6 separate regions of the Homo sapiens genome follow, and all the other regions are linked to region 6. The links are contacts of gene promoters, found by promoter capture Hi-C in blood cells and fetal thymus (Javierre and others, 2016). All regions are on one chromosome and are shown on one strand. Each heading gives the region's core, a stretch centred on a gene start or on the middle of the fragment in contact. The rest is flanking DNA. Distances are from core to core; before and after follow the strand shown.

Region 1 (3,834 bases), core at 450-2,949, 430 kb after region 6:
GCAACCTTTGCCTCCTGGGTTCAAGCGATTCTCCTGCCTCAGCCTCCCGAGTAGCTGGGATTACAAGCATGCGCCACCATGCCCAGCTAATTTTTTGTATTTTTAGTAGAGACGGGATTTCACCATGCTGGCCTGGCTGGTCTCGAACTCCTGACCTCGTGATCTGCCCGCCTCGACCTCCCAAAGTGTTAGGATTACAGGTGTGAGCCACAATGCCCAGCCTATAATTTGTTCTTGAAAGAAAGAATCAATATTGTAAACATGTCAAATTTCTTAATCTGTGAATTCAATGTAACTCAATAAAAATATCAAAAATAGGCCAGCATGGTGGCTCATGCCTGTAATTCCAGCATTTTGGGAGACCAAGGTGGGAGAATCACCTGAGGTTGGAAGTTTGAGACCAGCCCAGCCAACATGGTGAAACTCTGTGTCTACTAAAAATACAAAAATTAGCCGGCTGTCATGGCAGGCACCTATAATCCCAGCTACTCGGGAGGCTGAGGCAGGAGAATTGCTTGAGCCCGGGAGGTGGAATTTGCAGTGAGCCAAGATTGGGCCACTGCACTCCAGCCTGGTGACAGAGCAAGACTCTGTCTCAAAAAAAAAAAAAAAAAAAAAAAAAATATATATATATATATATATATATATATATACATATTTTTTATATATATATATATTTCCTATAGCTTTGCTTATTATTATTATTATTAAAATTTTACCTTGCAGCTCCAGCTCAAAGGACCTAAAGCTTAATAGAAAAATAATTAAGGACATCTGAAAAAAAAATAAGACTAGCCAAAGAACATCTAAACATTAAGAGTAATGAAGGGAAACTATCAGATAGTAAACTATGTTACAGAGCTATAATAATTGAACAGTTAAGTACAGTCACGGGGAATAACATGCAGATGAACTAACAGAACAGATTCCTATTCACATTTAGGAATATGAATAGGAATTCAGCATATAGGAGAAGTGGTTCTGCAGATCAGTGAAGGAATCAGGGACAACTGCTTATCTAAGAAACAACTATATTTTTACCTTACTCTTCATACCAGAATAAATTCTAAATGCATCCAAGATCTGTATGCAAAATATCAAAGCTTAGAAATTATTAGAAGAAAGTAAAGATTCTATTTTTGTAATCTTAGCATAAGGAAAGTCTAAGCATGAAACAAACTGAAAAGCTATATTGAAATACATTAATACATTTGACTTTGTTTTCTAAAATCTGGTAAAATATTTTTCAGTCAAAAATTATATGACAAACTGAGGGGAATTTTCAACATATACACATGAGACAAATAATAAATTTTCCCCAGTGACACAAGAGAGCAAATCGTGGAAAAAATGTGTAAGTGGCCATTAAACAGATGAAAATGTTCTCAAGTTCACTCAGAATTAACTATATATGTTACAGTAATTAAATACATATTTCATTTATTTAATTGTAAAAAATAAAAACATAATATTTGGTCATGGTGAGCAGACAGAGACTCTCATACACTGCTGTGGGACTGTCAATTGTGGCACCATTTGAAGGGCAATTTGATGATATATATGAAAATTTAAATGCGGCCGGGCTCGGTGGCTCATGCCTGTAATCCCAGCACTTTGGGAGGCCAAGGGAGGCGGATCACTTGAGGTCAGGAGTTTGAGACCAGCCTGGCCAACATGGTGAAATACCATCTCTACTAAAAATACAAAAATTAGCCGGGCATCAGGGCATACTCCTGTAATCCCAGCTGCTCAAAAGGCTGAAGCAGAAGAATCGCCTGAATCTGGGAGGCAGAGGTTGCAGTCAGTCGAGATTGAGCCACTGCAGCCTGGGCAACAGAGTGAGACTCCACCTCAAAAAAAAATGTATATATATATATATAAATGCACATACTTCTTGCTATGTAACTTTAAGCAGTTACTTAAGTAAAGTTACTTTACTTGCTGTGCTTTCTTAGGCATAATTTTCTTATCTGAAAACTGGAAATAATAGTACCCACCTCGCAGCGTTCCTATGAGCATTACATGAGATTATGCCTGCAAAGTGCTCAGATTTTTCTCATTCCTGGTAGCTTGCACATCCAGAACTATGTCTGGCCCACAGTGGGTACCTGGTGAACATCTGCTGAATGAAGAAATTAATAAAACCACTCAATAAACATTAGCTGTTGTTAGTTATTATTTGCCTCTATAATTTCACTTTTTACAATTTATTCTACAGCTAGAGATGTGTGTAAAGATATAGGTGTAGTATGTTTATTAGTAGCATTGTTTGTAAAACAAAAAGCCAGAAACAACCTAAGCTTCCATAAATAGGGGACTGATTACAAATGTACAATAAACCTATGCAATGGAATATTAGCCAGCCAGTAAAGTAAAAAAGATGGAGATACATGAACTGATAGAAAGAGATGCCCTAAAAATATCGATGGGTTAAAAAAGGCAAGTTGCAGAACAGTACAAATAATCTGAGACAAAGGTCTCACTGTGTTGCCCAGGCTGGTCCTGAACTCCTGGGCTTAAGTGATTCTCCTGCCTCAGCCTCTCAAGTAGCTGGAACTACAAGCCTGTGCCACTATGCCTGGCTAATTTGTACTTTAAAAGAATAGAGAGGATGGGCACAGTGGCTCGTGCCTATAATTTCAGCACTTTGGGAGGCCAAGGCAGGTGGATTGTCTGAGCTGAGGAGCTCAAGACCAGCCTGGGCAACATGGCAAAACCCCGTGTCTACCAAAAAAATTTTAAAAAAATTAGCCGGGTGTGGTGGTGCACGCCTATGGTGCCAGCTATTCGGGAGGCTGAGGTGGGAGGATCGCTTGCACCTGGGAAGTGGAGGTTGCAGTTAGTGGAGATTGTGCCACTGCACTCCAGCCTGGGTGACGGAGTGAGACCTTGTCTCAAAAAATATATTAATAAATAAAATAAAAGGAATAGAGATACATATGCTTATATATGCTTTTTAAAAAGAATCAGAAAGGACACACAAGAAACCACGGGTAGCTACCCAGGCAACTGGATCTGTAGGATAAAGAAGGACTTGATGGAGTGAGGACTTAGACTTTTCATCTTACACTTTCTTATACTGCTTGAATATGTTTGCCTGAACATGCATTATGATTATCATTACAAGAATATTTTAAAAACTCAAATAATAGGGCCCTGGGGGAGTATCAGGAATATGGAGAGAGCAGAAGAGGAAGGAAATACAGGAAAATAAGGTATACTAAGTTAAATGTGTTGTCCCCCCTAAAAAAGTCCTACTCACCCAAAACTTCAGAATGTGACTTCATTTGAAAATGAGGGTTTTTGCAGATGTAATTAGTTAGGGTGAAGTCATGCTGGATTAAATTGGACTCTAATCCAATGACTGGTGGCCTTATAAGAAGAGGTAAGAGACACCGAGACACACACCCAGGGAAGGCCATAAGAAGACAGAGGCAGAGATGGAGTGATGAATCCTCAAGACCAGGAAGGCCAAGCACTGCTGGTAATCAGCAGATGCTGGAGGAGGCAAGAACAGATCCCTCCCTGGAGCCTTCAGGGAGAGCATGGCCCAGCTGACACCTTGATTTCAGGCTTCTAACCTGTGAGAGGATACATTTCTGTTGTTTTAGGCCACCTAGTTTTTGGTACTTTCTTACAGCAGCTGTAATGCAAAAGGAGAGAGAGAGAAGGCTAGTGGGCTCTGCAGGGGTAGTTGTGAGGACTAACTATTTAATCAGGTATAGTCACCAAGTGTATATTTATGGAAGCTTGCTCTGTATCTAGTTTTATAAAAAGAACCAAGAAAGCTCTTTTTCTCCCTGGACTTTGTTTTATCTGTATTGGGATGTGAAC
Region 2 (3,668 bases), core at 915-3,414, 410 kb after region 6:
CCCATGCCCTCTCCAGGGCACCACCCTCCAGGCACCTCCATGTGTTCAGCTATCTGGAAGCTCCCCAGACTCTGTCCTTTTGGGTTTTCATGGAAGCTTCATTATGTAGGCATGAATAATTATATCATTGACCACTGGTGACCAACCCAAACTTCAGATCCTTTCCCTTCCCCAGAGGTTGGAGGGTGGGGCTGAAAGTCCCAGCCCTCTAATCATGGCTGGGCCACCATTTACCTCATTAGCATACAAAAGACTCCTGTTGCTTTAGAGATTCCAAGGGTTTGGGAAGCTATATGTCAGGAGACAGGAGAAGACCAAATATATATTTCACAGTATCACACACACATACTCTCTTGATCACAGGTGAAGTTTTGCCCAAAGCAACAGAAGTGAAGCAAGCTTCTATTCTCACAGAGGTTTGGGTCCGGTAGATACTAATAACTTCTATTCTCTGATGCATTGTAGTAGGGCAGACATTAAGCATTTCATGTGCATTTTTTTTTTCTTTTTGAGACAGGGTCTCACTCTATCTCCCAGGCTGGAGTGCAGTGGCACTAACACAGCTCACTGTAGCCTCAATCTGCAGGGCTTAAGCGATCCTCCCACCTCAGCCTCCTGAATAGCTGGGATTACAGGCATGCACTACCATGACCAGCATATTTGTATTTTTTGTAGAGACGGGTTGTTACTATGTTGCTCAGGCTAGTCTTGAACTCCTGACCTCAGCCTCCCAAGTAGCTAGGAATACAGGCACATGCCACCACAGCCAGCATATTTTTGTATTTTTTGTAGAGACAGCTTACTGCCATGTTGCTTAGGCTGATCTTGAACTCCTGAGCTCAAGGGCTCCACAGGCCTTGGCTTCCCAAAGTGCAAGGACTAAGGTGCAACTGCCACACCCAGCCTTTCATATGTATTATCTTATTTAAGCTTCACTTTACAAGTGAGAAGGGCAGCCTTGGCTCAGAGAAGTTAGGTGACTTGCAGCAAATCACATAATTGCTAAGTGATGGATCTGAGCTTTAGCCCCAGGACTATCTGACCTTGGGTCTAAACTTATACTACTGTATTTTTCGTTAAGTCAGTCAGAGTTCTATCCTTTGACAGAAAGTATAACCTTCTTTTAAGGCAGAATAAGACCCTCTGCCCAACCCTGCTCTTTCTTTCTCCTCCGCACTAAGAAGACAGCGAATACAGTAGAGGGTTTTGGACTGGGATAGTGGTTGCAGAGAAGATCTGGAACTAAAAATATGGACCAGGGGTAGAAATGGTGGTGATTCCACCAAACTTGGAAACACTTAACAAGACCCCATAACATGCAAGATATGCAAGAAATGGGGTACATTTTCTATACCAGTGCCTTAAGTAAAAAAATTCCTTGTTAAACAAATGATTTAGAGAAGACAGAACCAAATATATATATATAGCTGTGTGTGTATTCTAATAAAGGTTGTTAAAGTCTTAAAGTTAGTGGTGGGAGAAAACAATAAAAAAATATGAAATCTCCCTATGTTAATAAACTAATTTCAAATACCAAGGGTTGGTTTTTGGTTGGGTGAGTCTGTTTTTGCCTTGATTAAAAAGAAGTGATTTTTTTCTTCAGCCTAGTTTTCCTGGTATGAAAGGCAAGAAGGAATGACATTCCATAACTGTTATAGAGGTGAAAACAGTTTTATTTATTGGTGGTCATTACCGGCCTATAACCAGGGCACAACCTTCTTGGTAAACATTTACCAAGCATTAGTGGAAGATGATTCACTAACTTTTAAAACTCTCCTTCCCTTATATGCATATTAATACCACGATATCTTTAGCTTTTAAGTCCATATATACAGGCACAGGTGCGAATAAATTCAAACATATCACTTGTAGTGGTTTACATAAGGGCTTGCTAGTTCAAATGGGGTTGTTAGTTTTGCATCTCAAATTAGTTCCTGTCAACCCAGCAACTAAAGAAAATTCCTTTGTGAAAAAAGTTTCCAGGCATGACCCAGTAATTGTTTTAATGGATTTTCAATGAAGGGTGAAGTACCATGCTATGTAGCCTGTGGGCATTCCATAAATATATTTTGACTGATTCTGTTAACAAACTACATAGAAAAAACCAAATACTTACTATCCAATCCTCTTATATTGTTTCCCATAGGCTCTGTCTGTTAGTGTATTTATAAGCATTTAAAGTGTATAAGGGAGCTCTGGCAGTGAGAGTGAATTGCCCAATGCAGAGAAGCACTCTGGGCTGGAGGGTTTTACTTAGTCTAAGATTTTCTTTTTTTTTTTTTGTGAGACGGAGTCTGGCTCTGCCGTCAGGCTGGAGTGCAGTGGCATGATCTTGGCTCACTGCAGCTTCCGCCTCCTGGGTTCAAGCGATTCTCCTGCCTCAGCCTCCCGAATAGCTGGGAGTACAGGTGCATGTCACCACGCCTGGCTAATTTTTGTATTTTTAGTAGAGACAGGGTTTCACCATGTTGGCCAGGATGTTCTCGATCTCTTGACCTCGTGATCCACCCTCCTCGGCCTCCCAAAGTGCTGGGATTACAGGCGTGAGCCACTGTACCAGGCTACTTAGTCTAAGATTTTCAGTGTGCACCTGAGATTTGCCCTTTCCAAAATGAGGAAGAGGCCTGAAGCCGATCAGCTGAAAGAAGTACTAAGCCCTGCAGGCTGAAAAGGTAATGTCCCACCTATGCTGGAGGACCTGATGTTGGTATAGTCAATTTTCTGTCTTCTATGTAAGGTATAGATCTGCTCTGATCTTGACATTGTGAAGAAAGCTACTATACTGTCAGAATCTGCTGTAATATAGCCCTGAGATGAGAAAGGTGTGTAGAACAGAAATCTTCACTGCCCTTCTCCCAAAACATTCATTGACCCCTCCTGTAAGATATATATATATATATAATTATTATTTTTTCTAGACAGAGTCTCGCTCTGTTGCCCAGGCTGGAGTGCAGTGGTGCAGTCTTGGCTCACTACAATCTCAGCCTTCCAGGTTCAAGGTTCCCAGGTTCCCAAGCAGATTCTCGTGTCTCAGCCTCTTGAGAACTGGGGCTACAGGCACACGCCACCACACCTGGCTAAGTTTTATATTTTTAGTAGTGATGGAGTTTTGCCATGTTGGCCAGGCTGGTCTTGAACTCTTGATCTAAGGTGATCCGCCAACCTTGACCTCCCAAAGTGCTGAGATTACAGTCATGAGCCACCGCGCCCGTCCTGCATTCTTGCTGTGTGTGTGTAACCCTTGCTATAGTTATATAATTTAGGTTGAATTTAATTTATACGTTGACTATGATCTGAGGGTCAAGATCATTTGGGATAAAGGAGAGATCAACTACATGTCCGTATACTGCAAGTTAGAATTTAGTTAAGAAGGCCCTGAGTAGATTCCAGAATTATAATAAAGCTTTCATTTTTAGTTTGAGGAAACTTCAATATGGGCGACAGAACAAAGAACTCGGGTGGTAGGAATTAAGTTGGTAGGAATTAAGAGGGTGCCTGCCAGACGGGCTGGAAGTGAAGGAAGCCATGTGCCTGCAAAGCTGTTTAGGGCTGCCATGTGTTTATGCCCTGGCAGAAACCTCTGGTTAGAAGTTAGATCGCTTACATTTTTCTTAAGTAACCCATTTTGTTACATCCATATGTTTTCCCTCTTTCCAGAAGGAAAAAAA
Region 3 (3,830 bases), core at 702-3,201, 340 kb before region 6:
CTAAGGCCACAGTGTAACCTAAGCTTTAGCCTTCCCTCCCTGTTGTTGGGTCATCTTCTCCAGGGACATAATGGGAAAGGCTTTATCTAATGTCTTTTCTCATTTACCTCCCTGGAAGGTGTCCCTTCAGTACTGTGTGTCCTTGGTGCTGCTGAGCTCTGTCTGGCTCTCTGATCGTTTCAACACCTGGCACCCCTGGAGAGGCTACCGAGGAGAGAATGCGGGTGAGCTGCCACCAGTGGAGCTCTGAGGTTATCACAGCCTGATAAACGAACTCACAGGACACTCCCAATCCAATACGGCGCTGATGGGGTTTAAGACACTGATGCAGATGAGAAGCACAACTGCACAGCATATGTACTTCTAGTGAGAATTCATCAAATATCCCAGGCATGGCTTCCAGACCCCACCACTGTGTGGCCCATGCTTGTTTGTGAAAGGTGAGTCAAATATGTGAGGATTCTTCAGCACAAGGAAGCTGGCATTGCATATGAATCATGTGGATCCTTCCTGGGCGTGTGACCTGCTCTGTTTCACTGCAGCCCATCACATGAGTTACATCATATGGTAAGGAATCTCAACAACCAGGTTCTGTTGCTCTCAGTATCCTCAGAACATTGCACAGAACTTGGCAACCTTTAAAATATGCCTCATTTATGATCAGTTGAGCAGGTTCTTCATCTAGGTAGTGTGATCCATTTGGACATCTCTGGGTCCGTAGATGAGTTTGACAGTCCAGCTGATGAGGCCTCTCCCTTCAGTGAAACGGACCGCACTTCCCCCTCATGTTTATTTTTCTTCATCCTTCACAATATCACCCATGGGTTGTGAATATATACCAGATGTTTTAATAGGTGTGATACAGAGAATTCTATAAAATAAACACTGCAATATTCGTTTTTTCATGAAAAATTCACCCAAGATGTTAAACCCTTCGCAGAATCAGATATGCCCAGTGTTTAATCTTGCTTCATTCCCTTCATGCCCACATCGTTCTGAAAATTCTTCTTCTAACCCGTTTCTATAACTAGTAATCAAATTTCTAGAAAGCCTAATCCCTACCCATGAGACTGAATTTCACCCTGACCTTCATCACGCTACATCCAGCAGCACTGACTTCCACCAGTTTGTTTCAATATTCCTCTTTGCTACCTATGAGCCACCTGCTTAGCCTTACAAATCTCCCATGGGAAAACATTAATTTTTCAGAATCAGTAAAGCCTGTGTTGATGAGAAGAAACATATAGTTTAAGCCGTGATAATTTGCAAGATTGCCTCTCTCACCATGGAATTAGTGTCTCGCCTTATTGGGCAGAGCACTATCAATTTCTTTTCTACATTCTCCCTTTCAATTCTGCCTCCTTATTGTACATAAAAATAAGCAATAGGCTTAAGAGTGAGTCACACACTTTTCAATTGCCTCCTACTGGATGCTTTAACATTTTGATGAAATCCTCAGGCCAGCAGTTCAGTAACAGAAGTCAGCATGCATTAGAAAAAAAACCAATATTTTATTTAAACAACATTCCTTGAATTTTCCTCTTACGAATAGAAAAAAAAAGCTGGATCAAAGATAATCTAAGATAATTCTCACCATATGAACACAAAGAGATGCAATATCATTATGATAATTGAGGTGAATTTTTCTCTATATAGCTTAGCTTTATTCCAAAAAAGGAATCCTGCCTTATGCAGAAAATCTTCTTAATTTTTATTCATGTACAGAAATTGAAAAATGTTTAATTTTGAGTAAGCTTTCTTCTAAAAAATGTTTAGATTCAGTGTTCTGACGTAAGGGAGATTATGATTTTTAGTGGATGTTTTTGCAGTGATATAGGTTCTCTTCCAAGGCTTCTTCCGTAGAAATCAGAAAAGGACCAAAAATTGTTTACTTTGCAGGCAAATCCAATGATAAATAGCAATTTAATATCTGCTATGCGCATAAGCTATATTTACTTTAAAAGCATGGGTACTAGCAAATTTTCATACTAAGATACAGGGTTTAGGAATGAAGTTAAAGACACAGTACTATTTAATGCGAAGTTTTTTTGAAAGCTGCTAAGAAAAGAATATTCAAAATTCCTTTAGAAGTTCATCATCTTCTCATTTATTTTCATGAATAAAGTTTGTTCTTTAAATATTTTATGTGAAGCTTGTTTCACACTTTCATTTCTCAGGCTAGAAATCAAGGAGTTCAAGGAGATGGTCACACACAAGTTCGGTCTCTGAATCACAGAATCGCAGAGAGCTCTCGGTCTGAGCTTCTGTCCATGGCCACAAAGAGTTGCAGACTGCAGGTTGAGCAATGCAGGTTGAGAAAGCAAAGAGGTGAGCAAGGCAGGTTGAGAAAGCTCCATGCACACTGTCTGCAGAGATAATTTTTGGTATGTCAATTTCATTGCAGATATAAGATATGGAAATAATGGAAAAGAGAGAGAAAGAGAGAGAGAGACTAAGAGAGAGACAGAGAGAGAGACCGGCATAGGGCTTAGTATATGCTTGCATAGGTCACAGTTTGACTTCAGGAATGTGATGGGAATGACAGCCATAACTTCGTTGGCACAGGATTAGGGTAGCTGCCTAATATAGCATCAGGAGATTGACATGTAGCTAGCAGCCTCTCCAGGGCCCTGTGGTGAGCAGTATATACAGTTTGTGTGTAATGGTGTGCATACCTTGCAGTGGATATCCAATGGCAATAAAAGGGTGGCACTGTGTCAGTGAATGCAAGAAGATCTCGGGGCAGTACAGGCAAGGAAAGGAGAAAACATGGACAGCAGCACCCTGAACATTGATGGCTCATTTCTGCGTTGAAGGTAAAGCAATAATTGAAGACAAACTCATGCCAATCACAATGATATTTTTCAAGGAAAAAAATACATGCATGATGTGTGAAATCCCAAGGAACAAACAAGGGTCCTGAATATAACATTTCCCAAAAGGGTACAAAATTTATAAGATATAATCAGGATAATGAAATACAATCTCCAGCCCTCAGCCATTCACAGTAACAAACTCAGACATCACTGTGTGATTTCTCATTTTAAAGAAGAATCGACACAAGATATCAATGAAAGGAATATTTTGCTTAAGGTAAAAATCTTTCTAAACAAATAGCCTTTATGTACAACAAGCAGAAAAGCCATAAAAAACTGTTGCTAATTTATAACTTGGATTGGCAGGCATTCTTTTTTTTTTATATATCTGTCTCTAAATTGAGCTTTCTAATTTCAGATAATCCTCATTAGCACCCTTCCCAGAGGAAACTCTTTGAATAGAGTCATTATTTTTTCCATATGTTTTCACCTTATAAATCTTCATAAAACCAGCAAATCACGCTCTTCCCTATTCTCCCACCCTTAGCTTCTGTCTCCCTCTACATATCATGCTGACCTCTGTGCTGATCTGATTTTATTAAAACTGCAGACTCTTTCATGAGATGAAGAAAAATGCATAGGGAGAAGACACATTTTTCCTACCTCTAAACTCACCTCATCATATAGGAGCATCAACAGATTAGAATGGCTATCATAAAAAAGATGAAATGTAACCAGTGTTAGCAAAGATGTGGAGAAGAGGGAACACTTGCATACTGCACTACTGGTGGGAATGTAAATTCATGCAGCCATTATGGGAAAAATAGAGTTACCACATGATCCTGCAATTCTACTTCTGGGTATGTATCCAACGGAACTGAAATCGGTATGTTGAAGAGATATCTGCATGCTCACATGCATTGCAGCATCATTCACAATAGCCAAGATATAGAAACAAACTAAGTATCCATCAATGGATGAATAGATAAAGAAAATGTGGTATATGTACACAAT
Region 4 (3,854 bases), core at 1,327-3,826, 320 kb before region 6:
CACAGCAAAACCATGTACTCAGGATTTCAATTTTCTTCAACAGATGAAGGTTACATTAGGAAAGTTATGTAAAAAAAAATTATCCAGTAGGAAATTTAATTTTTTAGAAACTAATATTCATTCACAAAACCTTGCAATGCATACAGCACTGTGCACAATAGTAAAAGTCATATAGACAACTAAATGATGACATGGTGTACTTGACCTAGGCTCTCAATATGGGACAGAGAAAGGGTAAAGATTACAGAGAACTAGTGGGGGACACCATCATTCTTCCCTTCTCTCCTGGCTTCAGCTTTCCCACTGTGACAGGTGGAATAAATCAGGTAGCTCTTGGGCCGCAGGTCCTGCTGTCTCCAATTCAGCCTAGAAAGAAGAGTCTCCACTTAGGCTTGGATTAAGCCACATTTTCCACTCATTTTCCCAGAGAACTTTATGACTGGGAATATTGAGATCTTGCTGATCTTTTCATTCTCCATTTGCTGGTGATTTCGATTTTCATTCTTTGTGAGTGAGAGCCTAGAAGTTAAGTAGAAGTTTGAGACCCCAAACTCATGTATAGTCATTCTGGTAAGAAATAGGATCAATACTGTAGAAGAAAAGTATTAAAACTGCTAGCAAACACTAGAGGTAGACAATAATAAATTTATAGGGTTGCTGACCTGCTTGGTTTGTGATTTTTCTCTAAAAGAGCATAACAAGGTGGGTGTGTGAATGGAACAAGCAGGTGAGCTCACTGAAGACTGGGCAGGAAGACATGATGGAGGGAAGGATTTTAGTAATTTAGAACTAATTATAATAATGTTTAAGAAATCTGAAGCAGATAAGAAGCTAAGAAAAGGCTACAAGAGGAGAAAAGTTTACATGAACAAATCAGAGATTTTATTGAGGTCATTTTAGCCTTTATTAAGTCAAAAATTTATTACAGCTACCAACATACACAAAAACAGCCATGTTCTGGTGAACAGGAACTAGCCAAAGTCTCTGTCCTCAATGAGCTTACAGTCTAGTAGAAGAAGAGAGGCATTGGTCAAATAATCCTACATATATAAATGATAATTATTTAAGGCGGTAAGGGCTAGGAAGAAGTGCTGTGGATTGAAAAGCTATCGTGGTAGAGTATTTGTATCCTACTCATGTTCCTCTTTCATATCAGTAAATTAAATATGTATCCACATCATGATTTATATGGCTAGCTGATGTTCCCTGAAGGTAGAAGGGGACTTCCCTGAGAAACTGTTATCCCAGCTGAGATCTGAAAGTGAAAACCTTTCTAGGCGGGGGTAATAGCATGCGCAAAGCCTTCATTGGAAAGATGTAAAGTATATTTGAAGAACTTGAGGAAAGAGAGGAAAAAAATTGAGATAAAACTTGAGAGGCAGAAAAGCAAATGATGACTAAAGGCTCTGCTCTTTAAAGATTGCGATCTCTACATTAGGGGGCTTAAGAAAATGTAAGACAGTTTTAAGCAGCATTGAGTTTCGGCACATTGTGGAAGAGAGAATGTGAAAGATAATTCTAGCTACAGTCAGGAGAGCAGTTGTAGGGCGCAAGAGCACCTTCAGGGAGACAAATAAGGAAGATCACTGGGCTATAGAATTTTGAGATATTTGGTCAGGAAAAAAAGAGGAAAGATAATCACTAGGGCAGAGAAATGCTGCGGGGAATGTGTGTGGGTTAAGGCCCTGCTTTAGCCTCGTGTGACAATGTCAGAACAAAGCTTCATTTTCTGCCTTACGTTTCTATACCTGAATGTGCACTACAAACCATGTTTTAACTCTAATTATCAGGTAAAGCCCCACACGGTATCTTCTGGGAATACCCAGAGGATTAGAACCAACAGAGGATAGTAACAAGATAAGAATGAGCATAATCGTACCCCACTCTGTGGGATTCGAATATTTTATTACAAATGAGTTTTCTCTCAGATGAGCTTTCACGCATCTGAGAGATTGAAAGGAAAAAAAGAAGTTGGGGTAAGTTTTTTTTTGAGGGGGGTGTGGAAGGCCAAATGTTTATTTCTAAAGTTTCATCAAATTTGCTGTATTGTGCATAGCTGCATGAAGATCTGAGACAGATTCCCATCTACATCCACAAACTAATTGTGTGGCTTAAAGAAAATTACCTAACATCCCTAAATCTCATTTCATCTTCTGTAAAATGATCTCATAGAACTCATAGGTAAATTACATTAGATAATATATAAAAAGCAATTACGCAGTGCCTGGTGAGGAATAAGGACTCAATGAATGGTAACTTATTACTCTAGGCAGATCTTCTGAAAAGCTACCTTAGACTACACTTCTCAAACTCTTTCTCTGCCCACACCAAATGGAGGTATAAAAAATAAAGAAATAGTGATTTGAGAGGGTTCAACTACAGTAGACGTAGTTACAGGAAAAAGGAGATAACTAATAAGCCACAGAATGTGCGAAAACTGCATAAGCAAACTTTAAAAAAAATGTAGGCCAGGTGTGGTGGCTCACATCTGTAAGCCCAGTACTTTGAAAGGCCAATATGAGAGGATCACTTTAGCCCAGGAGTTTGAGACCAGCCTGGGGGCAACATAATGAGATCTCATCTCTAAAAGAAATTTCAAAAATTGTCTGGATGTGGGGTGCACACCTATAGTCCCAGATGCTCTGGAGGCTGAGGTGGGAGGATCTCTTGAGTGGGGAGGTCCAGGCTATAGTGAACCATGATTGCACCACTGCACTCCAGCCTCGGTAACAGAGCAAGATTCTGTCTCAGAAAAAGAAAATTGTGGTAAAATACACAAAGCATAAAATTTAACATCTTAACCATTTTGAAATATATAGTACAGTAGTGCTAAGTTTATTTACATTGTTGCTTGACTATCTACATTGTTGCTCAACTAATCTCCTGGACTTTTTCATCTTGCAGAACTGAAACTCTATTACCATTAAACAACTTCTCCATTTCCTTCCAACATCTGTGGCTCCTGGGAACCAGCATTCTAATTTCTTTTTCCATGAATGTGACTACCCTAGGTACCTCATGTTACTGGATTTAAACAGTCTTTTTGTGACTGGCTTATTTCACTTAGCATAATGTCCTTGAGGCTTATCCATGTTGTGGCATGTGTCAGAACTTCCTTTCTTTTTAAGTCTGGATAATGTTTTGTTGTGTGTATATACCACATTTAGTGTATCCATTCATTGAATGAATACTGGGTTGCTTTCGACTCTTGCCTATTGTGATTAATGCTGCTAGGAACGTGGGTGTACAAATGTATCTTCAAGACCCTGCTTTTATTTCTTTTGTATGTATAGCAAGAGCTGGAATTGCTGGATCATATGGTAATTCTGTTTTTACTTTTTTAAGAAAATACAATACTGTTTTCCATATCATCTGCACCATTTTACATTCTCGTCATTAGTGTACAAGGGTTCCAATTTATCACATCATAGCCCAAGCTTATTACTATTGTAATTTTTAAAATAGTAGCCATCCTTATTGAAGTGATATGTCATTGTGGTTTTAATTTGCATTTCCTCAATGCTCAGTGATATTGAACATCTTTCCATATACTTATTTGCCATTTGTGTCTCTTCTTTGGATAAATGTCTATTTAAGTCCCTTACCCATTTTTCAATCAGGTTATTTGCTTTTGTTGCTGTTGTTGTTAATGAGGTAAGATTTTAAAAAGTGAATATGTGTGTCTGTGTGTGTTTATGTATGTGTGCACATGTGTTTTAAATAAAATCTCATGTTGTGTGCTTTTAGATATAGGAAAGATTTAAATGGTTAAAGTTTCTCTTTTCAGTGCCAGTCATTGCAAGACTAATTTAGAAAAAGCCAAAAAGTTGGTCATTCAGATTTTGTTTTTTATA
Region 5 (3,559 bases), core at 175-2,674, 360 kb before region 6:
TCTAAGTTATCTAGTCTATTGATACAGTTACTGTTACTATTCCTTTAGCGTCTTTTTTATTTCTGTAAGGTTGGTAGTAATGTCTCCTTTTCCATTTCTGATTCTAATAACTTGATTCTTCTTTTTAAATTGGTCAACCTAGCTAAAGTCTTGTAAGTTTTGTTGATCCTTTTAAATAATCAACTTTTAGTTTTATTGATTTTCTCTATGTTTAAAAATTCTCTTTTATTAATTTCTGCTCTAACCTTTATTAGTTTCTTCATTTAGCTTGCTGTTAATATAGTTTGCTCCTTTTTTCATTTCTTTGAGCTGGAAAATTAAGTTATTGATTTCAGATCTTTCTTCATATGATAGGCATTCAAAATACGAACTTCCTTCAAAGTACCACATTAGCAGCATCACATAAATTTTGTCTGTTGTGTGTTTTTTTCTAATTTAACTCCTTATTGTTTGATTTTCACATATTTCTTAATTTTCCAAGTTTCCTTTTACTATCAGTTCCTAATTTTATTTCATTCTGTTTGAGGAACATAGTTTGTATGATCACAATCCTTTTAAACTTATTAAGATTTGTTTTATGGACTTGCATATGGTCTATCCCTGAGAGCATTCCATGTAAACTTGAGAAGGCTCTGTATTCTATGTTGTTGGGTTGAGTTTTTATAGATTTTTTTTTATGTCTAGTTGACTTATAATGTTGTTCAAGTCTTTTATTTCCTTGATCTTCTGTATTGTCATTTTGTTCATTATTAAAAATAGGCTATTATTGAATTGCCTTTTTTTTTTTTCAAGACGGAGTCTTGCTCTATTGCCCAGTCTGGAGTGCAATGATGCAATCTTGGCTCACTGCAACCACTGCCTCCTGGGTTCAAATGATTCTCCTGCCTCAGCCTCCAGAGTAGCTGGGATTACAGGCGCCCGCCACCACATCCAGCTAATTTTTGTATTTTCAGTAGAGATGGAGTTTCGCCATGTTAGCCAGGCTGGTCTCGAACTCCCGACCTTGTGATGTGCCTGCCTCAGCCTCCCAAAGTGCTCAGATTTACAGGCGTGAGCCAACACACCTGGCCTGAATTGTCTTTTTTACACCTTCATTTCTGTCAATTTTTGCTTCATGTATTTTGGTAGTTCTGTCATTCGGTGCATATGATTATAATTTTATATCTTCTTGACAGAGGCACCTTTTTAATCATTAAAAAGTATCTGTGTTTAGCTCTAGTAATTTTTTTTGTTTTAAAGTCTATTTTGTCTATTAGTATAGCCACTTTAGATTTCCTGCGGTTGCTGTTTACATTATATATTTTTCTATGCTTTTACTTTGATTATGTTTGTATCTTTGAGTCTAAAGTGTGTCTCCTGTAAGCAATATGTAGTTGAATCATGATTTTTTGTCCAGTCTGACAATCTCTGACTCTTGATTGAATTGTCAATTCACTTACATTTAATGTTAATATTAATATAGTTGGATTTACACCTACCACTTTACTTTTTGTTTTCTTTATGCCTCATTTTATATCTTTTTTTCCTCTATTTCTCCTTTACTTTTTTTCTTTACGTTAACTTCAAATGTAGCATTTTAATTTCTTTAATGATTTTTATGGTATTGTTTGAGTCATTATCTCAAGGGCCTCCCATCTTACATCATAACTTATCACAATTAGCTTCAGATTTATAATAAGTTAACCCCAGAGCAATACAAAAACATCACTTCTATCTAATGCTATTCTTTTTTCCTCTTTTGTGCTATTACTCTTATACCTATTACATACATGGATATTATAATTCAACAATGCATTGCTATAATTATTATTTTATATAATTTCATGTCTTTTTTATAGTATAATGCCTGTATCATGGCTGACTTTTATGGAGGAGAGTTTTTTTTTCTTCAACTTTTATTTTACGTTCTGGGGTACATGTGCAGGATATGCAAGTTTGTTATGTAGGTAAATGTATGCCATGATGGTTTGCTGCACAGATCAATTCATCACCCAGGTATTAAGCCCACCATCCATTAACTATTCTTCGTGATGCTCTCTCACCCCACCAATTTCATGTCTTTTAAAGAAAGTTGAGAGAAGAAAGGAAAGCAAGTATATATTCATAGTTTTTGTTATAATAAACTTCTTACTTACTATTTCTGGTTTTCTTTCTTTCTTTCTGTGGATTCAAATTACCGTCTAGAGTAATTATCTTAGCCCAATACAGCTCTGCTTCCACCCACCTCTTTTCTACTGTTATTGGCAAATATATTACATTTATATATGTTATATGCCCTAAATTACATACACATTGTTTTTTTTTGTTTGTTTGTTTTTATACACATTGTTTTTTACAACTGCTTTTAAACCAGTTAAAGGAAGGGAGAAAATATGCATTTATACTATCTTTTATAATTACATAATTACCTTTACCAGTTTTTTTTTTCCATGGGAATTCAGATTGCATTCTGGGGTCACTTGTTTTCAGTCTGAATAAATTCATTCTTTCTTGTAGGGTGGATCTGCTAGAAACAAAGTCTCTTAATTTTTGTTTATCTGAGAATATTTTTAGCTTCACTTTTGAAGATAGCTTTGTTGTACATAGACGTTTGGTTGACTTTTAGTTTTTTCTTTGAGCACTGAAATGATTATTCCCCCTCCTTTCAGCTTCTGTTGTTTCTTATGAGAAACTAATTTTATTGGGGTACCTTTGTAAGTGATGAGTCTTTTTTCTCTTGACGCTTTTCACATTTTTTTTCCTGTGCTTGGATTTTAATATTTCTACTATGATTTATCTGGATTTCTTCATGCTTATTGTACTTAGTGTTCATTGAGCTTCCTGGATATGCAGATTGTTGCTTTTCATTGTATATATTTGGGATGTTTTTAGTCATTATTTCTACTGATACTTTTAATGCTCTCTCTCTCATTCTCTCTGCTGCTTCTGGTATTCCCATTAAGCATATATTAGTGTGCTTAATGGTGTTTTACATTTCTCTGAATCTTTGTTCATTTCTCTTTATTATTTTTCTCTCTGTTTTCTGGCTTCATGCTCTATATTGATTTATCTTTATCTTTACATTTGCTAATTCTTTCTTTGATCAATTAAAATCTACTTTTGAGTCCCTTTAATATTTTTCATTTAAGTTATTGTATTTTGAACTCCAGAATTTTTATTTGTTCTATTTCTCTTTATTGATATTCTTTATTTGATACAACATTGTCATCATACCTTCTTTTGCTTCCTTAGTCATGAATTCTTTTAGTTCTTTGAACACAATTAAAATGGATATTTTAAAGTCATTGTCTGTTGCTAAAATCTGATACATGGTTGCTCTCACAAGCTGTTGTTGTTTTCTAACCTGCTTTTTTTCTTGATGTATGGGCCATGCTTTCATGATTCTTTGTATGTCTTGTAATTTTTTGTTAAAAGCTAGGCATTATAGAGAATATATCTTAGCATCTGGGTGCTGGTTTTCATCTCCCTCCAGGGCATGTTATTATTATTTGCTTGTTTGTTTAGTGACTGGCCAGAAAATTTTAGTGAAGTCTATTGTGTCCTCTGTGGTGTCAAGTCT
Region 6 (3,376 bases), core at 475-2,974:
GCAATCTTCCTAAAATCCAGTAGTGTGCTTAGTATCTCCAGAGCAAGGCAGAGGCCACATTTTACAGATCATGCAAATCCGTGGAGTTCTTCCTTGTTTCTTCTTCCAGCCTGAGTCTCCGGAGCCTAAGAAATTGGCCCAATTACACAGGATCACTTACCCCTGATTACCATTCCAAGGCCCAGAAGCTTTAGAACTTTGAAATAAAAGATTTGGATTTGATTTATCCTTACAGAGCAGATCATAGAAAATTCTTGTGTGAGGGCTTCTTTTATGTACATACATGTATATGAAAAGGAGGGTTTATGATCTTCCTGACCAAGCAACCTCCTGAAGAGCTGGATATATAATCATATTAGCACTGGCACCAAGGTATCTACCATTGATCTTTAATAAGTCTGCTTATGTAACTAAAGAGAAAACACTCCTCAACCTTTATACCACCACCTGCCCCTTGTTCCAGCCAGAAACGTTCTTGCTCAGAAAAACCCATTTAGCCTACCAAGAAAAGAATGGAAGGCATGGAGCCTCATCTTACTCATCTCTTGGGCCTAATACAGAGTTCAGTAAACAAAAGGCATTTCATAGACACTAACTTGCAGGCAGTGAGCCAATTTAATTGTTGCAAAATAATATAGTCCTCAAGGAGAGTATAGGAAAGAGATTTCCAATTTTTAAAAGTGGAGAGGAGACCCTCTTTGAGGAAAAATATTAAAATTCCTCCGCCTATAAATAGAAAGACACTTGAGTATCATGCTTACCGAGAATCGGTTGCCAGTGATATGAAGAGACCCATTAGAAGAGCACTCTCTTCAGGGTTTTGCCCAGGGCAAGTTTATCATCCTTATTCCTCAAACTGTAGATCGAAGGGTTAAGCATGGGAACCACATTGGTGTAAAAGACTGAGGCAAATCTGCCATGGTTCATAGAGCCAGGAAAAGATGTTGTTAAGTAGGTGAATGTCCCTGACCCAAAAAACAGAGCAACAGCAATTATGTGGGAGCCCCATGTGCTAAAGGCTTTGGATCTGCCCTCTGCAGAAGGAATACAGAGGATGTTGGAGAGTATCAAAGCGTAAGAGATGACGATGCTTATGCTGGATAGCATGGTGATTACTCCAACAACAATGAAAAATACCAGCTCACTGACATGGGTGCTGGTGCAGGAGAGCTGCAAGAGGGGGAGAACGTCACACAGATAATGGTCAATGACGTTGGAATCACAGAAGGTCAGTCGCAGCATGCTTCCAGTGTGGGCCATGGCCCCAGCAAACCCTACCACATAGGAACCAAACATCAGCAGAAAGCAGACCCTTGGGGACATGGTGACCATGTAGAGCAGGGGGTTGCAGATGGCCACATAGCGATCATAGGCCATTGATACCAACACATAGCACTCAGAATTGACAAAGAAACAGAAGAAAAATAGCTGAGTCATACATCCCACATAAGAGATGATACTTTCTGAAACAAAGTCATTCAGCATTTTGGGGGTAAACACACAGGAATAACAGAGATCTATAAAGGACAAGTTGAAGAGGAAAAAGTACATGGGGGTGTGAAGGCTAGGATTTATCCCAATTAAGGTGATCAAGCCCAAGTTGCCCACCACAGTGAACACATAGATCCCTAAGAATAGAAGGAAAAGAGGGAGCTGGAGCTCTGGCTGTTCTGATAATCCCACAAGGATAAACTCAGTCACTGAGGAGCTGTTTCTCAGAGTCATTCTCTCTTGGCGAGCTGTCTGGGGAAGCAGAGGGCAAAACACAAAGAGTCATGACAGGCACAAGCATGGCTAAGGGAAGAAGACTCTAGTGGACCAGCCAGTGTGCAGATGCCCTCTCTTCCATCCTCCCTCATCTACACACCTCCCCACCCTGAGGTATTAACAACGTGTCTGTGAGAGGATCTCAGCTCTGCTGGGCCGATCATGAATTCAAGCTAGCATCTGTTACCATGGGCAGCAAGAATTCCGTCTCTGCTTGAGAGATGACGAGGGAGACAACACACCTGAATTGGCTGCCCAGGGACTCTCAGAAAGACACCCTGAGAACCAAGAGTACAACCTGGGCCGCTGCCTCAAGAGCTGAGAGACCAGAGCTCTCAAGGTCACCAGGATGCCCTCCCATTCTCTGCCTCCGTCTCCCAACTAGATAGTGGATTTCCATCTGGAGAGAAAGCCAAGAGTGTTACCTGCTGGCTCTTTACATCCCACCCGCCTCCTCGAAGACCCTCCATTCCATCTCACCTCAGGGTCAGTGTTGAGAGCAGAGACGGGATCCATACTTCCCAGAGCCCTTGGTTGTGGGTTTCAAAGAGACCATCAGGAAAGACAGGATTCGGACCTTCACCTTCCTTCTCCCGGGCCCCACTCAGTGCTGGGCCTTACGCCATCTCTTTTTCCATTAGCCAGAAAGAGAAAATGGTGCTGCTTGTGCAGAAAGCACACAGCCTTGCGTATTACCTCTTTTGACTCCCTTGGTGCTGAGAATCAGAGCTTTTACAGACCCCAGGCTCCAAGGTGCTCAAGGAATAGACCATGGTTTCTGTTTGTGGATTTTCCCAGGTGGTCTTGACAACTTCAGGAAAAAAAACTAGGAACTCTCATTTTGACCAGAACCCCAGCTGTCATATCACAGAGGAATTTAAGCTGCTTGACGATCTCAGGGACCTGATTAGACACAGTTTCCCCTGGGAATTTCTCCAAGATCTGTCTCTATAGGGAAGGAATTGCACTGTCTTTGTTTACAGCCTGGATAACGGTGCTTACCTAGCATCTTGGGAGTGGGGGTTCCACTCAAACTTTCCCTCTACTCCAGGGATTTCATGTTATTCAGTGCTGAGTTTGGGGACTCATTTTTTCCTTTCTCATTAACTCTCAGAGCCTAAGCTTGAATTTAAGAGTGAATAGCCCCAACCTAAGCCACCATCTCCAAATCTTCACAGGGAGCTATGAGAGTAGGACCCCTCAGAAAAGGTCAGATCAGATCTACAGAGAGCACCTCAGATAAAAGGCTTCTTGGACCATGCGCTGCTCAGAACAGAAACCACACCACCTCCACCACAAACACCACCTACTCGCAGCTCTAATAAGGGCCGCAGACAGGCCTTTACTATATATGAAGAGATTAAAATATCACAACACATATGCTAGAAAGCACACACACACACACACACACACACACACACACACACACACACCCCTACACAGAGTTACTCTCTAGGCATGCAGGCTTAAGGTATAATGGGAGATGGATGTAAGGGTCTAATCCTGCCATTATTCAGATGACAAAGCTGCTCTCCATATGATCTGCTAGATGAATATTTTAAGAAAAATTCAAAGACATGGGAGCATCTGCATTTGTAAGTTTCACTAA

What was found. The method cuts DNA at HindIII sites, captures the fragments that hold promoters and counts their contacts. A CHiCAGO score of 5 or more calls a contact.
Region 1: a fragment that was not itself captured here is called in contact with the fragment with the promoter of OR8B4 in region 6 in 1 of 17 cell types (megakaryocytes); the score reaches 5.1 in megakaryocytes.
Region 2: a fragment that was not itself captured here is called in contact with the fragment with the promoter of OR8B4 in region 6 in 3 of 17 cell types (megakaryocytes, erythroblasts and M2 macrophages); the score reaches 7.5 in megakaryocytes.
Region 3: a contact is called between a fragment that was not itself captured here and the fragment with the promoter of OR8B4 in region 6, in 1 of 17 cell types (total B cells). The highest score is 5.4, in total B cells.
Region 4: a contact is called between a fragment that was not itself captured here and the fragment with the promoter of OR8B4 in region 6, in 1 of 17 cell types (total B cells). The highest score is 5.7, in total B cells.
Region 5: a contact is called between a fragment that was not itself captured here and the fragment with the promoter of OR8B4 in region 6, in 1 of 17 cell types (erythroblasts). The highest score is 5.5, in erythroblasts.

What each region holds. Positions count from the first base shown.
Region 1 is chr11:124,857,348-124,861,181 of GRCh38, forward strand. No RefSeq gene overlaps it. Among named protein-coding and RNA genes, the nearest start is that of ROBO3, 6.2 kb to the right of the region's middle. The HindIII fragment of the contact is 1,197 bases long and covers 1,102-2,298 here.
Region 2 is chr11:124,832,951-124,836,618 of GRCh38, forward strand. It overlaps MSANTD2-AS1 (MSANTD2 antisense RNA 1), which reads left to right. Exons shown (of 5, transcript NR_103862.1): 5 at 1-1,537. Among named protein-coding and RNA genes, the nearest start is that of ROBO3, 31 kb to the right of the region's middle. The HindIII fragment of the contact is 2,473 bases long and covers 929-3,401 here.
Region 3 is chr11:124,080,275-124,084,104 of GRCh38, forward strand. LOC105369545 (a long non-coding RNA gene) reads right to left here. Exons shown (of 2, transcript XR_948127.3): 2 at 2,083-2,366. Among named protein-coding and RNA genes, the nearest start is that of VWA5A, 33 kb to the right of the region's middle. The HindIII fragment of the contact is 398 bases long and covers 1,753-2,150 here.
Region 4 is chr11:124,099,042-124,102,895 of GRCh38, forward strand. No RefSeq gene overlaps it. Among named protein-coding and RNA genes, the nearest start is that of VWA5A, 14 kb to the right of the region's middle. The HindIII fragment of the contact is 1,717 bases long and covers 1,719-3,435 here.
Region 5 is chr11:124,060,031-124,063,589 of GRCh38, forward strand. No RefSeq gene overlaps it. Among named protein-coding and RNA genes, the nearest start is that of OR10G7, 20 kb to the left of the region's middle. The HindIII fragment of the contact is 6,328 bases long and covers 1-3,559 here.
Region 6 is chr11:124,423,147-124,426,522 of GRCh38, forward strand. OR8B4 (olfactory receptor family 8 subfamily B member 4) reads right to left here and starts at 1,725. Exons shown (of 1, transcript NM_001005196.1): 1 at 796-1,725. The coding sequence starts at 1,725. The coding sequence ends at 796. The HindIII fragment of the contact is 2,701 bases long and covers 187-2,887 here.